Regions from separate parts of the Homo sapiens genome. Here region 1 is linked to region 2. Evidence: promoter capture Hi-C in 16 types of primary human blood cells and fetal thymus (Javierre and others, 2016). All regions are on one chromosome and are shown on one strand. Each heading gives the region's core, a stretch centred on a gene start or on the middle of the fragment in contact. The rest is flanking DNA. Distances are from core to core; before and after follow the strand shown.

Region 1 (2,700 bases), core at 155-2,654, about 13 Mb before region 2:
CCCTCTCTCAAATTATCTGTTTTTATCTTCTCTGCTGTTCGTCATGTACATTTGTAACTGTATTTGTATTGATGATATACATCTAATTGTAAACTGTGCTCTTTTTATATGTTATATAATCTTCCATTTTTATGGTTACATCATATTCCTATTACATTGATGTATCTTTTTATTTATAACTACCTCACGCTCATAGACATATTTTAAGCAACACTGCAGTGACAGCTTTCCTATACATAACCTTTTCCCACAAAATTAATTTTGAAAACCATATGCCATTTTAGCTCAATTTTGAAAGGGTACTTTTGATATGTACCACATTGGCTGTTTTGCAGATAGAATATTTTAACTAGGCACAGAACAAAAGGATGTAACTGCTGCACCACACAAATATTGTTGGAGTTTTCACACTGGAAGAGCTAGATTCTGTGTTCTCCTTGTCTCAGTCATACTTTGCATGTGCTTTATTTACTGGTCTCTTCTTATTCATTTATGTAGTAAGCAGTTTAACCAAAGCAGTAGAAAGCCTTCATTTAAAATGTCCAGTGATACTAAGTTTTGCCAATCACTTGTGTTCTGTTACTACATTTACTCCTCAGCGCAGCGGAATGAGGTTCCTGGTCTCTTCTTCTTCTTGAACAGGTGAAATATGAGAAACCTTCTCAGGTGTACACAGGCAACCAAAGGTCAGGAGTGTTAGCCATTCGGCTCAGGTGAAAAAGAGAAACAAGGAGAGAGACAGAATTCTCCATTGAGCAACCTGTGCCCTGTGATGTGGATGTCTGGAGTGCCCTGTGGAGTGATGGTGTCCCTAGTGGTGCTGCTCCTCCCTGTCCCTACTTGGTGTGACTTCTTGTCACATGTCACTATGACATGGCATCTACTCCAGGCACTGAAGTATACTGATTACCATAGTTGTTATAGAAAATCTTTAAATCCCTTTTGGCAAAAGATGCCTCACACAATGTTACCAGAAGAAATAATGACCTGGGGCAGAAATGTTAGCCACGTGGATACCTAAAGAAAATAAAATTCAAAATCAAAACCTTGAGCACAGAATAAAGGAAAAACTCCAAACAGATAGGAACAAAGGACACTAAAAGGCCAATGTAAAAGGAGAAGTAGAGATGGCCAATAACCTTGAAAAGTGATGGTTTTCATTTGTAATCAAATAAGTGAGAATAATAGAATGATTTGTTCCCCAAATCAGATTACCAAGACTGTGGGAATACTTATAACCTGCTCTTGGTCATGATAAAGAGAAGCAAAGTACTTGTATTCTGTTCAAAGATTATGGAGGTAGGTAAAAAACTGGGAAGAAAGCATGCAGTTATATGATCACAGTTCTAAATGTGCTTATTTTTTGATGTTTTAATTTTCATTTGAAATTATTATTTTAAACAATGAGAGAGTAAGATGTTCTTACATCTTGCTACATCATTACTTAATGATGCTCTTTACAGGATTGATAATGGAAAATATGTAAAATTAAATATTCTTTACTGTAGCTAAAAGTAGGTCATCAGATCTCTGGAATACTATGCAGCCATGAAATAGATAATGCTAGTAACAACAGTAAAAAAGATTCCAGCTAATGTTCATTAAACAGTGGCACAGATGTTTCCAAATGCTATGTATTTCCTTGTTTAATCCTTTAAAATACTGTGCCAAATAAGGACTATTATTTAGAGAGGAAAGTAAATCCTGTAGGCAAACATGTCTAAGGCCACACAGTTAGGAAGGGGCAGACCCTTAGGATGTACAGTGATGCATTCTGGCTTCTGATCAGGACACTGAAGGCTGCAATTAACATTTGTGGTTTGTACCTTGAGAGTAGAGGACACACTACATAACTGTCCCACTCAGCTGTCCACACTGGTACTGTGGAGTAGGTTCACTGTGCACTGATTACCAACTTGTGTGAGTCCTGTGAGACAGAACACGATCTCACTCAACAGATTACGTGAAGCAGATTTGTTATCTACAAATTGGCAGCAAGGGAGCACAGGAGTGTAGGATACACTGTGAGGTGGCCATCCAAGGCTGAAGAAAACGTCCTGGGGTGGGTAGAATCTTGACCCCATTTCCACCAGAGCAGAGGTACCCCAGAAGGCAGCCCACCCGAGGTTATATACCTCCGGGGCAATACGACTTACTGGGCACTTTCTCCCTAACTCAAGACATTATCTTCCCTAGGAAGGACAGGAACATTGCATTGCTAGCATGTTCTATGTTTATTCTTCAAAACTATACACAAGAAAGAATGATTCAAGGCCACCCTGAAAATTACCCACAGTTACCTAAAACTTGTTAGTTTAGCAAATACTAAAGAAAAGCAATAGCATCCAGGGTTTGAGTACGAGAGAGGAGGACCCAACAAAGTTGGGACTGAATTGTTTAATGTTGCTGGGGCAGTTGGCAAGATGTGTCGAACCTATATATGGGTAGCTCAGGATGCAGCATGTAGAGTCCTAGAGGGTTACATACAAGTAGACTCAATGAGTGCACAGAATAAATGTATGAGACTTCATCATTGCACTTCTGGTGGAGTTCAGGAAAATCAGTATGTGTCATTGTCAGGATATAGACAGAATGAGTGGGAAATCTCTAAGTTGACCTACATCCCTCAATACTGAGAACAACTTTCCACTCATCCCCTTCCCCTGCTCAATGCCGCTTCTCCCCCAGTAGTCCTTGGTC
Region 2 (2,911 bases), core at 335-2,834:
AATTACAGGTCATTGCAGCCTCGACCTCCTGGGCTCAAGAGATCCTCCCATCTCAGCCTCCTGAGTAACTGGAATTACAGGGGTGTGCCACAATGCTCAGCTAATTAAAAATTTTTTTTGAGTAGGCTGGATGCTGTGGCTCATGCCTGTAATCCCAGCACTTTGGGAGGCCAAGGTGAGTGGATCACTTGAGCACAGGAGTTCAAGACCAGCCTGGGCAGCATGGTGAAACTGACTACAAAAACTACAAAACAAAACAAAAAAACCCTCAATTTGCTGGGCGTGGTGGTGCGTGCCTGCAGTCCCAGCTACTTGGGTGGCTGAGGTGGGAGGATCACTTGAACCCTGGAGTTTGAGGCTGCAGTGAGCTGTGATCGCGCCACTGCACTATGGCCTGAGCAACAGAGCGAGACCCTGTCTCAAAAAATATATATATAAATATATATATAAATATATATGTGCATATATATACGTATATATACATATGTATATATACGTATATATGTATATATGTATATATAAATATATGTATATATAAGTAGAGAGAGAGAGAGAGAGAGAGACGGAGTCTCACTCTGTCGCCCAGGCTGGAGTGCAGTGGCGCGATCTCGGCTCACTGCAAGTTCCGCCTCCCGGGTTCACATCATTCTCCTGCCTCAGCCTCCCGAGTAGCTGGGACTACAGGCGCCAGCCACCACGCCCGGCTAATTTTTTGCATTTTTAGTAAAGACGGGGTTTCATCGTGTTAGCCAGGATGGTCTCGATCTCCTGATCTCGTGATCTACCCGCCTCGGCCTCCCAAAGTGCTGGGATTACAGGCGTGAGCCACCGCGCTCTATTTTTTTTCTTTTCTTTTTCTTTTTTTTTTTTTTTTGGTACCAATGAGGTCTCGCTCTGTCGCCCAGACTGTTCTCAAACTCCTGTCCTCAAGCGATCCTCCTGCCACAGACTTCTGGGACCACAGGTGTGCGCCAGCACACTCAGCTTATTTTAAAAAAATTTTTTTTTTTTTTGGTAGTCTCCCTATGTTGCTCAAGCTGGTCTTGAGCTCCTGGGCTCAAGCGATCCGCCCCCCTTGGCCTCCCAATGCGCTGGGATCCCAGGCCTGAGGCATCGCGCCGCCCGACGTCCCCCTTTGGTTACTCTGACTGCCCGCTGATCTGTATAAGAGGATCCGGAGGGGAAATAATGCAAGGTGGAAGTCAGAGTCCGGAGCCTGGTCCAGGGTCTCTGCACTGGCCCTGACCCTGGCAAATGTCCCTGACTCCTGGGGCTCGATTTCCTCCGGCCAAGAATGGACGGTCTCGCGCTTGGTCCCTGGCCTCCGAGTTGTGCCCCCAGGACAGAGGCAGGTCTGAGCCGGGCTGTAGGCCCGCTGCGACTTTTACACCGAGGCCTGCCGGCTCAGGATCTGTCCCCTTTGCAGGTGGTTTGTAGAGAAAAACTACATTAACTACAAGGCATTGCCAGGTGCGACGGCGGGCCCTGGGGCCAATGATGGTCCAGGACAGGGGCGTTTCCTGTGGGTTGCGAAGCTTGGGGCGGGACTTCCGGCATTTGGATGGGACGTAATTTGGGAGCGACGGTTCCGTCCACGCCGGCTCTAGGGAGGGGGCGGTGTTCCGTGGCCGCCTCCCTGGCGGCGCTGGGGAAATGAGCAGGTAGGAGGCCGACAGCGACCTCCGCGTCTCGGAGCGAACCGTGAGCCTCCCCGTAACGAGAGAGTTTGACTGTCAGCCAAGGTCACCGGGCCCGGCGCAGGGAAGGGGTGGGGCTCGGCTGAGCCCGCGAGACCCGCCCTGCTCGCCGCAGCCCCCGCCCCGCTAGGGCCACAGGGTCCCGGTATGGCGATGGCTTTGACGGACCCGGCGCAGGTGAGTGGACAAGGTTTCGGCCTTGCTGCTTTTCTGCTAGTTCGGGGAAGCCTCCTGGGCAGGCCGGAAGCCAAGACAGCCACAGGATTCCTCTTTGTAGTTTTGTTTGTTTACGAAACGTGGAGCAGGCTCGTCACTTAGTTTATCTCCTGTCGTGGTAGTACCTGAGAGACTGAATATTGAAGCGGACAGTAGGCAGACTATACATCGATTATAGGGCTGTGACGTACAATTTTTTTGTAGCAACCTGCCCAGGAAACCAGCCTCCTGTTCTGCAATAAACTACTCTGGAAGCCAGTCTGCCTTAAGTTAGTCTTGCAAGGAGCTAGATTACTCTCTGGTGACATTTCAGGAGGCTAAACGGTAACTCCTGGAACAGTAGGCCCCAAATAGGACTTGATTTGTAACTGACTGTTCTAATTTTTGCCTCCGCCTCCAAAAGAGGACCAAGCAGAGAAAGCCATACGTGCTCAGCCTAACCAATCACATACGATGCCCCACTTCTAGTTAGCCCTTCTGCAGCTTTCCACTGCTAAAGTGTCAGGCCTCTGAAAGCTGCTTAATAATTGCTTGAAGGATGGATGAAGTTCCACTCCAGGGACTCCCGTCACACACATCATCCGAACTCAGCCTTGGCCTGCAAGTCCCTACCCGGTCCACTATGGCTGACCACCTCTGTCCTTGTTTCCTTCCTTTCCTCCCTGGCTCAGCGCTTCAGACACAGGTCCACTATGGCTGACCACCTCTGTCCTTGTTTCCTTCCTTTCCTCCCTGGCTCAGCCCTTCAGACATATCAATCTGATCACGCAGAGTTCTTTCCTACCCCTCAGCCTTCACCTTTACAGTTCATTCAGCCTCAGACACTATCCTCAGATCTCTGCAAGACCCTTTCACATCTTGTTGGCTCTGCTCAAATGTCACTTCTTTAAAGCGGCCTTTCATGGCAGTTCAGACTAAAGTAGTCCCCTTCTCACCTGCCCTTGGTCTAGCGTTTTTGTATAGAGAATCTGGCAAAGTTTTAGACACCTACTGAGTTG

The links. Contacts are between HindIII fragments. The CHiCAGO score rates a contact against its expected background, and 5 or more counts as called.
Region 1: a fragment that was not itself captured here is called in contact with the fragment with the promoter of ZNF805 in region 2 in 1 of 17 cell types (non-activated CD4 T cells); the score reaches 8.8 in non-activated CD4 T cells.

The regions. Positions count from the first base shown.
Region 1 is chr19:43,988,814-43,991,513 of GRCh38, forward strand. All of the region lies in intron 2 of ZNF155 (zinc finger protein 155), which reads left to right. Among named protein-coding and RNA genes, the nearest start is that of ZNF155, 6.0 kb to the left of the region's middle. The HindIII fragment of the contact is 3,880 bases long and covers 1-2,700 here.
Region 2 is chr19:57,239,048-57,241,958 of GRCh38, forward strand. It overlaps ZNF805 (zinc finger protein 805), which reads left to right and starts at 1,585. Exons shown (of 4, transcript NM_001023563.4): 1 at 1,585-1,874. The coding sequence starts at 1,845. RefSeq lists enhancers at 1,183-1,402, 1,423-1,692 and a silencer at 1,813-1,882. The HindIII fragment of the contact is 2,977 bases long and covers 1,534-2,911 here.